Regions from separate parts of the Homo sapiens genome. Here region 1 is linked to region 2. Evidence: promoter capture Hi-C in 16 types of primary human blood cells and fetal thymus (Javierre and others, 2016). All regions are on one chromosome and are shown on one strand. The core of a region is centred on a gene start or on the middle of the fragment in contact, and the rest is flanking DNA. Distances in the headings are between cores, read along the strand shown.

Region 1 (7,191 bases), core at 349-2,848, 300 kb after region 2:
GGAGGGAGGGGGCAGCAACCTGTGTGGCTGTTTTTTGTTTTGTTTTGTTTTCAGATGGAGTCTTGCTATATTGCCCTGGCCGATTTTGAACTCCTGGCCTCAAGTGATCCTACCACCTCAGCCTCCCAAGTGGCTGGGACTACAGCAGCCTGTTTGAATCAGCCTTCCAGGTGATCCTAATGTATACCCAATTTGAGAACCACTGGGATTAAGGAACAAGACGACTCTTTACCTCCTCTCAGGGTGTTAAAAAGTGCAGTTCTTCCAAATTCTTTCCCTCTAGAGAGCACAATGACAATATTAGTTCAGACTTCCAAGGTGTTGAAGAAAGCCCGCCTCTGCATCTTGAAAGCTGATTCCTATATCCAGCAACATTGAAGAAGACTGCAGATCACTCTGGGTGTCAACTGCATGTACCTACATCCATCGCACCAAGATTCTTGAGTGCCAATCACAGAAACCCACCTGGAAGTCAGGTCCAGCTCCAAGGATGGTTTAACTGCCCCCTTCCCTTTGCCCTCTAGCCAGACCCTGGTGAGGGTTCCAGCCAGCAGGGTGACCCCACATCCCAGTCGACCCCGGACAGGCCCCAGGCCCGTTGTCCCAGGTGGAGTTGACAGCCCCCTCATGCAGAAGGCTGTGTGTGGACTGGCGCTGCCCCTGCAGGCCAACACTGGGAGACCAGGGACCCGCATTCGCCTGCAGCCAGCCTCACACTTGCGCAGAAGCCGCCACTGGGCCCAGGGCCAGTCCAGACCCCATCCCCAGGGCCGGCCAGCCTCTGTGACCCGTCTGTCAGGGGAGGGGCAGCACTGATTTCCAAGGATGCAGCCCGTATCAGGGCCTCCTGGCACCTGCCCTGCGCTGGAAGATTCTTCTAGTCTCCCGGCCCCAGTGTCAGAATTCTGAGAACTGGCCGGGCGCGATGGTTCACTCCTGTAATCCCAGGACTTGGGAGGCCAATGTAGGCGGATCACCCGAGGTCAGGAGTTCGAGACCAGCCTGGCCAACATGGTGAAACCCCGTCTCTACTAAAAATACAAAAAAATTAGCCGGGCGTGTTGGCGGGAGCCTGTAATCCCAGCTAAAGAGGCTGGGGCAGGAGAATCACTTGAACCCGGGAGGCAGAGGTTGCAGTGAGCTGAGATTGCGCCACTGCACTCCAGCCTGGGCGACACAGCAAGACTCTGTCGAAAAAAAAAAAAGAAAAGAAAGCTGAGAATTAGGAGGAACTGCAAACCCTTTCCAGGCGCCCTTTGCAGTGCTAACACGCCCCGGGTTGCACGCGCAACCAGCCAAAAGCCGCCAAACTCTGCTTCTTGACATCCTTCTCTCACACTGCACAGCTTTCAAAACGCCAGAAGCCCTGCTCTGCACAGCGGCTCCCCTGTCTGCGGACTGGGCCGTTCCGTTCTGGACCCAGGCCGGAGGCCGTGGGCTGCACCGCTCCAGGAGGCCAGGCTGGCGCGCGCCCGAGGCCGGGGCTGAGGGGGCGGCGCGGAACTCGGGCCGCGTGCGGGAGCGCCACACGCCCGCCAGGGGGCGCCGCCCGCCCGGCCCCGCCCCGCCCCGGCCCGCTCCGCACGCTCCGCTCCGCACGCTCCGCTCCGGGACGCCGACGGCGGCGGGCGCTTCCGTCTCGCGGGCCTCGGCCCGGTGCGAGCGGCTCCGCGATGTGGCTGAGCCCGGAGGAGGTGCTGGTGGCCAATGCGCTGTGGGTGACGGAGCGGGCCAACCCCTTCTTCGTGCTGCAGCGACGCCGGGGCCACGGCAGGGGCGGCGGCCTTACGGGTGAGAGGCGCGCGGGCGGCCGGGCCTGTGGGCGCCGCGGCTGGGCTGGCGGCGGGGCTGGCGGCGGGCGGCGGGCGGGTCCGGTTCCGGCCCGGCCTCGGCGCGTCGCGGCGGACACGCACGCCAGCGCGCGGCGGGGCGGGGGCGCGAGGCCAGGACCCGGGAGCCGGGCGCGGAGGGGCCGGGGCGGGGAGGCGAGGGGCTGGCGGGAGGCGAATGCGCCCTCGGCGGGCTCTCCTCAGGTCGGCTTGGGGCGGCCAAGTGGAGACCGGCGGCGGCTTCTGCCCGGATTCGGCGCCCGCGAGCCCCGGGGGCCGTGCAGCTTCCCGGGATCTCACCGCCGAAAGTTGGCGAGACCGCCCTGTCCTCATCCTCCACCTCAGTTTCCCCAGGTGCCTCTAAGGGGCCAGGTGACGCCAGCGCACGTTTTCTTTTGCCCTCTTCTTCGTGCCCATCTCACCAAAGTATCGCCCTTTTAGCAAGATCAGAGGTCCCTGGAGCTGGCCGCACCCCCATTCCCCCAGCTTCTCCTCCCCCACCTTTCCTGCTCCTGGCTGCTCTCAGAGCTGCGCACCCAAGGCTGTGGGTAGCGGCACAGGGTGTTCCTGCAAGCTCGCCAAGGTGGCCCTTTGTGGGCCCGGGTGCCACCATCACACAGGATGAAGCTGGACAGGCACCCTTGGAGTCGTGCGGCCTGTGGGATCCAGGGGAGGCCCACAGGCCACTCCCTCCGCAGGTGGTGTCCGGGGCCCCTCATGCTCCAGGGCCTGCGCCCAGCACTGCAGGAGCCCGGCTGGCTCGGGCTCAGTGCCTGTGCTCTTCGGGGCACCGACTGTTGCCCTACAGGATTGCGGTCCCAGTGTTGCCAGGTCGTCCAGTTTATCAAGAGCATTTTCTGTGAATCATCCTGATTTTCAGTGTGAGCAGCTAATAGCCAGATGCAGACGGAGGCTTCTCCTGGGCCACGTTTCTTCATGTGGAAGAGACTGTTCTGTTCCCAGAAACACTCAGTGTTCCCTTCAGCTTCGGGTTCCCTCCCAGTGGGCTTCAAGGATCTCGGGCTCCTGTTCTGGACCCGCCTCCTAGATCCAGCTGTTCAGTCGGCAGCCCCTGTGGCTAACCTCGAAGCTACTGCAAGCCCGATGAAGAAAGCGAGGGACCGGCACCTTTTCTTCCGCCAGCGCGCCAGGGTGTCATCAGCGCGCCAGTGTGTCATATTCGCTGGTGTACTTGAAACACTTGTGCTGTGCTCGGCAGGCTTATGTGGGTCGTCTCATTGAACGGGCGGGTGCAGGTGCAGCCCGGTCTCTGTACACCTCCTTCCTGCGGGCTCTTCTCCTTTCCACCTCACTCTCCGTGTCCCCTGGGACCGAGCTCCCAGGGTCCCCCCAAGGGAACCCTTCTTTGAACCCTCTCCCAATCTCTCCCCACTGCTAGGTTTGGTGTGTCCTGCTGTGCCCTCTGACAGGGCCTTCCCTGTGCCATCATGGGCATCGTGGCCTCCTGAGTACTGTCCTCCCTGAAGAGGAGCAGACAGGGATGTGGTTTTATCCAAGCCATCTATTAAAAACATGCCAACCTAGACTTTTCATTAAAGAATCTGAATAGCTAGCTTGGCCAACATGGCAAAACCCCGTCTCTACTAAAAATATAAAATTTATCCAGGCATGGTGGCACGCGCCTGTTATCCCAGCTACTCGGGAGGCTGAGGCACGAGAATCGCTTGAACCCAGGAGGTCAAGGTTGCAGTGAGCCGAGATGGCGCCATTGCACTCCACCTTGGGCGACAGAGCGAGACTATCTCAAAAAAGTATTAATGGACTATGAAACAAAAGTGTTAAAGTTGAATAACAGCAATAAAAATTGTTCTGACATCAACAGGAAAAATGGTAACAAAATATTTTCAGATCATGCCAAAAGCAGCACTTCGTTAAAAGGAAGAAAAAATTTCAAGTAAAAACAATAAACAGGTTTTTAGATTGCTCGATAATTCAATTAGTGAATCAAACAATGATAAAAGCTATATATTTCCTGCTGATTTGTCAGGAAATAGTGACACTGACAAAGATAGCATTACCTAAAATATAAAAGCAAAGATAGCGTTGCCACAGACTGCTTAATGTGTGTCATCTATCAAAGGGGTATATGTGATGAGAAGAAAAACTTGAAATGCCCTCAAATGTTTCAGTTCAGAAATGAAAAAACTTTATATTTTCCCAAATTTGACAATTCTAAAGATCGACTTCTTCAGTTATGATTTTTTGAGGCTAAAAGAAACTTCCTTAAACTGTCGGTAATAAAAAATCAGTGAGTCATGGCAAAGGGGAGACATTATCTTTCTGTTCTTGATATGGAAAATAATGTTGCAGAATCATTGTCCTGTGTGTGAAGAAGCGATGAGTACAGGACCAGAACTGTCCGGAAGACGTATTTCAGGAGACGCACATGGCAGTTAGGAAAACATTGTGTTGGTTTTCTGGATTTTGTGATATTTCTGATATTGTTCTTTTTTAACTTTAACGTGTAGCTCTGTACTTTCTCGGTCTAAAGCAATACTTGTTTTGTAGTCTAGTTTTGTATACGTAAAGAGGGCTTCCCAGAATTGTTTAAGCTCTGGCCCCATGAAACTTGTATCTGCCTCTGCCTGCAAGTGTTTCTGAGCCAGGAGAAGAAGCAGATGCTTCCAGGAAGAAGTAGAAGGGGATGTTTTTGATCGGGATCAGACACTGGCTGAAGGCCTTTGACCGCAGGGGTCATTCCGGACGTTTCCCTCGTTGGGCTGGACCCTTTGGGTAGCGTCACCATCCTGTCTGCCTCCGGCCAGACTCAGCCTTCAGGGGCCTCAGTCCGGCCCTCCCCTCACCCTCTATGTCTCTCTGCCCTGTTCCCAGGTCTTCTCGTGGGCACCCTGGACGTGGTGCTGGACTCCAGTGCCCGCGTGGCCCCTTACCGCATCCTGCACCAGACCCAGGACTCCCAGGTCTACTGGACAGTGGCGTGTGGTAGGTGCCCTGAGTGGTGAGGGGTGCTGGGCAGGGCCTGCCCTGGAAGGGCCGTTGCCGAGAGGAAGGGGTGTGTAGCCCACGTGTCTGGGTGGTATTCCCTGCTGACAGCATAGCCCAAGGCTGCAAGAGGGAAGTGGAGGAGCCTTCGCTTCCATCTTAGAAAGGCAGCTCCGTGGCCCGGTGCGGTGGCTCACGTCTGTAATCCCAGCACTTTGGGAGGCCGAGGCGGGCTGATCACGAGGTCAGGAGATCGAGACCATCCTGGCTAACACGGTGAAACCACGTCTCTACTAAAAAACACAAAAAATTAGCTGGGGGTGGTGGCGGAGGCCTGTAGTCCCAGCTACTCGGGAGGCTGAGGCAGGAGAATGGCGTGAACCCGGGAGGCGGAGCTTGCAGTGAGCCGAGATCGCGCCACTGCACTCCAGCCTGGGCGACACAGCGAGATTCCGTCTCAAAAAAAAAAAAAAAAAAAAAAGGCAGCTCCACTGGTCATGGGGACAGGGCAGGAGAGGACAGCCCCATGGATCCCCATGTACCTCTAGGGACGCAGGTGTGGGGCTAGCCAATGTCCACATTCTCATGCCACCTTTTCTCAAGGTAGACGTAGTCGGCCTCATTCAAAGATTCCATATTTGCAAATTGGCCTACTCAATAAAATGTATTTGCAATCCCCAAATCAATACTTCCAGCGATTTTGTGGTCATTTGGAGACACTCATGGACACATGCACGTTCAAAGCAGTGAAAAATTTGACTCGCCTGATGCCCATGTCCCCAGCTGAGGCAGAACAGGACGACGCTCTGCCTTCTTGATTCAGCTCTCATACTGCACTCACGTGTCCTGTTCACAGTCTCTGCAGTGCCATGTTTTTCCCATGTTTGTGCTCGTTGCTGATGACTTGGCTGTTTAAAATGGCTCCCAAGCATAGCGCTCTTGTTCCTAAGAGCAAGAAGGCTGAGTTGTGCCTTGTGAAGGAGATCTGTGCATGAGAGCAGCTTCATTCAGGCGTGAGTGATAGTGCTGCTGGCCGTGAGCTCAATGCCAATCGATCAGGAATACGTATTAAATAAGGCATCTTTAAACAGAAACACATGTAAAACAGTTATGTATCGGTCAGTCGACAGAAGTGTGATTAGAGGCTCCAGGAACCTAACCCTGTGTTCCCCCGGGGTACTGGTTCAGGATTCGCTAACTCAGTGTTCGCGGCCACCTTACAGAATCTGACCACCTGAATAACGAGAATCCGCTGTAGTTGTCCTCCTAGGTGGAAGCGCACTCACCCGTCCAAGAGTGCGGAGGGAAGTCCCCTTTCAGCGGGTACCTGCTGGGTTGAGTTTGCTCTGAGAAAATGACAGTCCTAGCTGACGCTCAGACAGTGCTTCCTGTGTGCCAGGCACTTGCCTGAACCACCCGGTACCTCCAGAAGGCATAAGTACTTTGGTCTTCTCTATGTTGAAGGTGAAGAAACTCTGGCCCAGAGGGGTTGAGTAACCTGCTCAGAGTCACACAGCTGCAGTTTGGACCCTCTCAGTACCTCTCTGAAGCAGAAGCCACAGTGCCCTTGTTCTCCAGGGTAGTGGTTTCCCTTGAAGGCCTGGGAGAAGATGATGAGACTCAAAAGTTTGTCAACCTCACGGCTGGAACCCAGCTTCAGGAGGGGAAGGGTCAAGGAAGTAAAAGCACAGGGCGGGCGGCACCCCGGGAATAGCCCCACTCCCAGGTGGGCGCTCTGCACGGGCATCCTGACCAGCAGTGCCCTTCTCCTTTGCAGGACTGAATAACTCAGTAAGAGTTAGGAAGGGGAGTTTGTCCAAGGCCAAGCAGGGAAGCCCAGTTAGACCCCCGATCTCTGGCTTCAGAGCCTGAGTGGACCCTGGGGGCAGCAAGAGTTTGCCAGAGGAGGGGCTTCCTGTGGGGAGGGGACCATTTCTGAGTGGGCCAGGAGGTTGGTGTGTGCTAATGAGGAGAGGAGCTGCTTTAACATGGGCCCTTGAGATTTCCATCTCTGGCAGCAAGAGCTGCCCGTCCCTGGGGAGAGAAAAGTACGAGGGGCAGAGTGGGAATCCCTTTAGTCACAGCAGGCCTGGTGCTGGGGAGGGGCCCAGCCACAGCCACGCAGCGGAGCCCATGTACGTAGCCCCGTGCCACACACTTGACCTCTCCCCTCCTGCCAGGCCCAAAGCCCTGCACTGGCCCTGGCTGTGCCTCCCTTTCCTGCCAGCCAGGCTAGGCCCCAGAAGCAACTCACCAAGACCAGACATGGCCCTGCCAGCACCTGCTTAGTGAGTCCTGACCCTTGAGCCTGGTGTTCGAGGACACCTGGGGGTCTGCCTGCCTCCATTTCTGGCCTTGTCTCCCCAGCTCACAGCCTGGCCTTCAGCCGGACCACACA
Region 2 (6,547 bases), core at 1,300-3,799:
CTCCACGCTGGCCGCGAGGCTCAAAAACCTTCCTGGTGTTGCATGAGCCGCGACTGCAGCTCATGCGTCTTCCTCAGCACAGGCCCAACTCTCGGCAGCGATGGGTCTGGCAGGGAGAGGACGCAGGAGACCTCAGGGGACACGGTCTTCTCCTTTGTCCCAGAGCAAAGCTCTGCCACCCTCACCCCTGTGGGACACGGAGCTGTGGCCATGAGCTAGTCCACACCCATGTTCCAGTTGCCCTGGCCTCATCCAAGCATCCCCTACCCTGCTCCCAGCAGGGCAATCATGCTTCAGTGGCCCCAGCCACTTGCTGGAGAAAGTTCTTTATCAGGGGACAGCAGCCTTTGCTCACAGAGCAAGGGTGAGCTGGGGAAAGACTGGCCTCACCACCCTGACCTGCACTTGGTTAGGAGGGCCGCTCAGTGCTGCCCAGACCCCAGAACAACACAGCTGAGTGGGTCAGCTCTTCTGAGGTGCCTCTTGCGGCCTCTCCTCCTAGACTCCTGGCTTCCTCCAGGCGACACCCTGGGACTGGACCTGAGGCTTAGGGGCATAGGGTGATAATCGGAGAAGATGCAGGGAGGGCCCAGTGCCTGCACCCTGAGGCGCATCTGTCTATCTGCTGGGAGCACACTGCTCACCCCTGACCAAGTGCCTGCCTCTGTTCCTCCTCCCTTTCCCCACACCTGACCCTTGGTCTCAGATGTCACCCTCCCTAGGGCCAGCCTCTGGCCCTGGCCCTGGCCCCAGCCCTGCTGTCTCCCTGCCTAGCTACCTGGCCCACATTCATTCTAATACATCTGTATGCCCTAGGCAGCTGCCTGCTCTCTCCAGGACTCAGTTTCCCTAACTGTTCAAGAAATGGGCTGGACTGTTGTTCTTAACCTGTCCATTCTTCCAGGAACAGCCTTCACGGAAGCTTGGAACAGCACCTTACTCCATCCTCAAAGCTGACACAGGACTAACTCTGCCTCAGCTCTAGTGAGACGACACCCAGGCCTGCTATTCCTGCTCCCTAGGTCTTTGGAAATGGCCTGAGCTCAGCTCCTCGGAGCCTGTGTGTGGCAGCCGCAGGCTGTCCTTGCAACTATCAGGCAGCTGTGCCCTCTCTGAGGTGTCAACCCAGGGCCATTCTGCCACAGAAAGACTGGGAGATAGGGGAGGCCAGTTTCTATGCACATAGGTTAAGTACCTGGATCTAGCCATTCCTCTAAGCAGTAAACCTTGGCTTTTTATGATCCACAAACCAGCTTTTTGCTCAAGCTGGTTGGGTTGAGTTTTGGGCCACATCTCATCAGGCAGGTCCTGACTAAAGCAGAGTGAGGTGAAGGCAGCTGGAACTTCCGTGTCGGGTGGGGACTTGGAGAACTTTTCTGGCTAGCTAGAGGATTGTAAATGCACCAATCAGCACTCTGTAAAAACGCACCAATCAGCACTCCGTGAAACGGACCAATCAGCAGGACATGGGTGGGGACAAATAAGGGAATAAAAGCTGCCCGCCCACCCCTCGCCAGCCAGCAACAGCGGCGACCGGCTGTGGTCTTTTTCCCTGCTGTGGAAGCTTTGTTCTCTTGCTCTTCACAAGACATTTTGCTGCTACGCACTCTTTGGGTCTGCACCACCTTTTTCTTTTCTTTTCTTTTTTTTTTTTTTTGAGATGGAGTCTTGCTCTGTCGCCCAGGCTACAGTGCAGTGGTGCAATCTCTGCTCACTGCAAGCTCCACCTCCCCGGGTTCACGCCCTTCTCCTGCCTCAGCCTCCCGAATAGCTGGGACCACAAGCGCCCACCACCAAACCTGGCTAATTTTTTTGTATTTTTAGTACAGACAGGGTTTCACCGTCGCACCACCTTTAAGAGCTGTAACACTCACTGCCAAGGTCCCTGGCTCATTCTTGAAGTCAGCCAGACCAGGAACCCAGCGGAAGGGACAAACTGCGGACACAGGAGGACAGGTGTCCTGACCTCTATGCTGGGACCAACCAGGGAACTTTTCACTGAAGACCCAGTTCAAGGAGGCCACTGGATCCTGTTAGAGCCCCTCTCCCTTTCTAAAAGTGAAATCATGCATCGCCATCCTCCCAGAACCCCGGTGTCTTCAAAGTGGTGTCCACCCTCCCTGGGGGCCACGGGAGAGCGCCGAGAAGGTTGGGGAGGGGGGGTGTCCACCCAGGGATGTCCCATTGGGGGACACAGACAACCTAGGTGGCCAGTCCAGAGAACCGGGCCGGGCCCAGTCTTGAGGAGAGAGGGTGAACTGGGTTTTGGGGCGCCAGAGGCCCACCAGGTGAGGTGTAGGCTGGGGCAGCTGGGGCGCAGAGTCCGCCAGGGTCCGCGCGCGGGAGGGCAGCGTCTGACGGCCCGAGCGGGTGGTCCTGGCGCGGGGGGCCAGCCGCCGCGGAGGCCTGAACGCAGGGCGGGACGCTTGGCTCCGCGGCCGGGGCACGGAGGGCCCTGGTGTGCAGCGCCGCCCGCGGGCTCCCGCAGCTCCACCCCCGCGCCCCGCCCGCTCCGCGCTGCCTGAGTGCCACGAGGGGGCGCAGCGCCGCGTTGCTCCGGGGCCGCCGCCAGGCGCTCGTGCGGGCTGCGCTGGGAGCCGGGCGGTCGGGCGGCGGCGGCGGCGGCGGCGGCGGCGGCGGCGGCGGCGGGCGGCGCCCCGGTCCGCGGCGCCGAGGCTCGCACCGGGAGCTGCCCATGGGCCGGGCCCGGAGTTCCGGCGCGCCGGGAGCCGGTGAGTGGTGCGCGGCCGAGGGACACCTGGCGGTGCGGGCAAGGGCGCGGGCTCGCGGGGGCTGGGGAGGGCTGCCGGCGGCGCGGCGGGGTCGGCGGGAGGCGGGAGGCTGCGCGCGGCGCGGGAGCGTGCGCCGGGGTCAGCAGGGGCGGGGTCCGCGCGGCCGCCGGGACTGGAGGCGCGGGGGTAGCGGGTAGGGTACCCTGAGGGCACACCCCCGGCCACCTGGCGGGAGACCCAGCTCTGCCGCGCGCCGCCAGCCCCTGCTGGGCGCGAGGAGCAAGCTTCTTTCAGCCGCTAGAGTGGCAGGAAGAGCCAGCCTAGACCAAAGCCTCCACCCGCACCGGACCTCAGTTTCCCCGTCTATGAAATGGGGACGGGAAAGCAGACCTGCCGGTGCACGTGCAGAAGGGAAAGGGCCTTGCGCCTGGGGGAAGAGGGTGCTGTCACCCTTGAGGATGGGATCGGATTTGAGGAAAGGACCAGCGCCACTATCAGAGGGCCTGCGAGAACAGTGGGGTCTGCTGGGAGTCCTGGGTGTGTCCCTCACGCAGTGACAGCGGACGGCATCAAGGGACCACCTGGTCCACTCATTGTATTTAGATTGGGAAAGCGATGCTTGGGGGGACTTGGGGAAGGGTGCTGGCGACGCCGCCCCATGCTCAGCGTGGGCGTGGGAAACTGTGGGAAAGACAGAGCTGGGAAGTTGGGGTGCTGGTGGAGCTCTTCCGGGCCCGTATCTCCTGCCTCCTGGGGCTGTGGGAGAGACAGAAGTTCTGAGCCCCGGGAGCCTGAGAAGAGTCCTGGGAAGCTCTGCCTGCCAGGCAGGTGGAGTAACTGAGGTTTAGAGAGGGGCGGGACCATGGAGTGGCAACGCTGGGGTCCCACCTCTGGTAAGACTGGCTCCAACAGCCATAGTGCAGCCACTGTGCAGGCGACCGGTGGAGGGGGGCTAGGGTTGTCCACTCACTGGCCACATTCATTGAGCGCCTACTGTGTGCCGCCTGCTGCCTGCCCCCGTAAGTGCTCACTAGCTGGTGTGGGAGGGGACACCAAACAAGAAATCAAAGGCAAAAGCAAGGACATGGCCAAGATCTTATGCGTGCTGGGAAGAACATGCAGTAGGGTGACTGGGGCAGAGGGAGACCAGGGCGCGGCGGAGCCTTCGTCTGGTCAGGGAGGCTGTCCTGAGCGGGGAGCCCAGCCTGTGATGGACGGGTAGCCCGGGGGAACAGCGCGGGTGAGATCCCTGAGGGCAGGAGGGGGCGGAGCTGGAGCTGAGACGCTACAGGGTCTGGACGTCCTGGGCAGCCCCCAGGCGGTTTGCAGGTTGGGCGTCGAAAGGCTGCCCGTGGCGGCGGGTGGGCGCACTGCCGGGGCAGGAGAGGGAGGGCAGGCGAGAGAGGGACGGGCTGCGGAGCCCAGGGCGGGACTGGCGAGGGGGAGCCCGCAGGCCACCAGGTAGAGGTGGGGCCCTGCCCGGGACCTGGCCCTTTTCAGGCCGGGGTCTGCACCCTCCTGCCATGTCCCCGCCAGTCTCTGAGGTGGTTCCAGCTCTCACTTGTACCTGGACCCAGATCCAGAGTCAGCCATTTGTCCAAGGGGCCTTGGTTCCTTGCGTGGGACCCGGGCTTAGTGTGGGGCGTGCACTCGCCGCCTCTAGGCCTTGTCAGTGGACCAAGCCAAGGCCCCTTTTTTACTAAAAATTAATATTTCCTTTCCCTTTCTCCTGCAGTGAGAACCTTATTCCCCCAAACATGAATATATTTCATCATTTACTTAGCTCCACAATGCACCCCGAAAGAGTTTCAGAATGACTGCATCCACACCGAAGCCAACCAAAACCTGCTAGGTCAGCATCGGGATTTCCACGGGTGTGCAGGCAGAGTGCTGTGTGGTGACGTTATCAGTCGGACACACTGTTAGCTTCGTGTGTTTCTACTTGCATTCAATTTGGAGCTTTTTTTCCTTTAGACTTTAGGATGTAATTTTATTTTTTGAATACGTAAAACACATGGTTTAAAGGTCAGAACTATTAAAAAGCTATCCTTAAAGGTCTCAGTCCCACCCCTGCATCTTCTTCCTTGTTCCCACACCATTGGGAGCCATTTAAAATATTTTCTGGTTTATCCTTCCTGTGTCTCTTTCTGCAAAACAAGTCATTTAAGCATTATCACAAAAGTTAGCCGTACAGCTCCTGGTTTTTCTTCAGTTAGAAGTATGTCCTGAAAGTAACTTCTTACCAGTTCATGGAGACCTGGCTCATTCTTTTTTACACTCACATAGTATTTCGTTCTGTGGCTGTACTATTATTGTTTATTCAAATTATGTCCTCTGGATGAACAATTTTGTTTTTTTCCAAGTCTTTTTAAATTTAAAATAATGGAGTAATGGATAACTTTGCACCTATATTGTTAATGTTTGCAAAGGTGTATATTTAGAACACACTTCTAGAAGTAGGAGTGAATGTGGATTTATTTTGTTAGCTAGTCCCAAATTCCTTGTCAAGAGGTAGCACCGTTTTGCATTCCCACCACCGATGTATCACAGTGTCTTCTGTTTCCCCACAGCCTCGCTGGTTTGAGAGCTGAGAAACAGTATTTCAGTGTATTTTAAATTTATATTTCTATTATTATAAATGAAATTGGACATCTTTTCACATAGATTTGGAATCATACTTAGACTTTTCTAACTATGAAAAGCCCAATTATAAAGCAATCATCTGTGTTTTCTAATATTTGTTTAGTTGTGTACTTAGTCTCTGCATCCAATTTAATCTTTTTCTAAGTGTCTGGCACTCTGTCCCAAAGCCATTTATTTAAAAGGTCATCTTTCCTCCAGTGATCTGAAATGCACCTTTCTCATACACTAAAAATCCAAGCCCTGGGCCTGTTTCTGGGCTTTCTAGTGTGTCTCACAGGTCTGTCTGTTCCATCTGTTCACATACTGGTGAAAGAGAGAGAGAGAGAAAAAATATATTTAAAGGCAAGGAGGGCCTGGCACAGTGGCTCACGCCTGTAATCCCAGCACTTGGGAAGGCTGAGGCAGGCAGATCACTTGAGGTCAGGAGTTTGAAACCAGCCTGGCCAACATGGTGAAACCTTGTCTCTACCAAAATATATAAAAAATTACCCGGGAATGGTGGCACATGCCTGTAATCCCAGCTACTTGGGAGGCTGAGGCATGAGAATCGCCTGAACCTGGGAGGCAGATTTTGCAGTGAGCTGAGCTGAGATTGTACCCCTGCACTCCAGCCTGGGCAACAGAGTGAGACTCTGTCTCAAAATAATAATAATAATAATAATAATAATATTATAATAATGGCAAAGAGGACTTTATTCAAGACCATTGCAATAGAGGAGAGAGATTGGGCTCAACTCTCCTTGTTGTGTTTTAACATGTGGTGGGCAAGTTCCTTCCATCGCTTTTTACTGCAAGGATTTCCTGGCTGTTGCAGCACGTTGCTGCTGTTCGGGCGGGGAAGGAGAGCGTATTAAGTTTATATTAGGCTTGTATATTAACTTTAGGATAATTGGCATCTTTATGAAGTTGAGTTATCTTATCCAAAACTGAGAGATGTCTTTCTGTTTGTCAAGACTACTTCTAGGAGTGTTTTGAAATTTTCCTCATATATGTTTTTCCTATTTCTTATGAAGTTTATTCATGAGTATTTTTATCTTGTGTGTTGCTACTATAAATGGTTTTTTCTTCAATTATATCTTTGAATTGGCTACTGTTTCGTGTATGTTATTTTATATCTTTCTGTCTTACCTGAATTTTTATTGTTAGTTTTATTGTTAGTCTTTTTTTTTGTT

What was found. The method cuts DNA at HindIII sites, captures the fragments that hold promoters and counts their contacts. A CHiCAGO score of 5 or more calls a contact.
Region 1: a contact is called between the fragment with the promoter of TBC1D9B here and the fragment with the promoter of RASGEF1C in region 2, in 4 of 17 cell types (megakaryocytes, M1 macrophages, M0 macrophages and 1 more). The highest score is 6.7, in megakaryocytes.

Annotation. Positions count from the first base shown.
Region 1 is chr5:179,902,304-179,909,494 of GRCh38, reverse strand. It overlaps TBC1D9B (TBC1 domain family member 9B), which reads left to right and starts at 1,598. Exons shown (of 21, transcript NM_015043.4): 1 at 1,598-1,791; 2 at 4,683-4,793. The coding sequence starts at 1,674. RefSeq lists silencers at 1,447-1,606, 1,677-1,736, 1,747-1,886, 1,937-1,986 and enhancers at 1,867-2,644, 6,425-6,924. The HindIII fragment of the contact is 10,003 bases long and covers 1-7,191 here.
Region 2 is chr5:180,205,213-180,211,759 of GRCh38, reverse strand. RASGEF1C (RasGEF domain family member 1C) reads left to right here and starts at 2,549. Exons shown (of 14, transcript NM_175062.4): 1 at 2,549-2,732. RefSeq lists a silencer at 2,414-2,633 and an enhancer at 3,758-4,550. The HindIII fragment of the contact is 1,452 bases long and covers 1,567-3,018 here.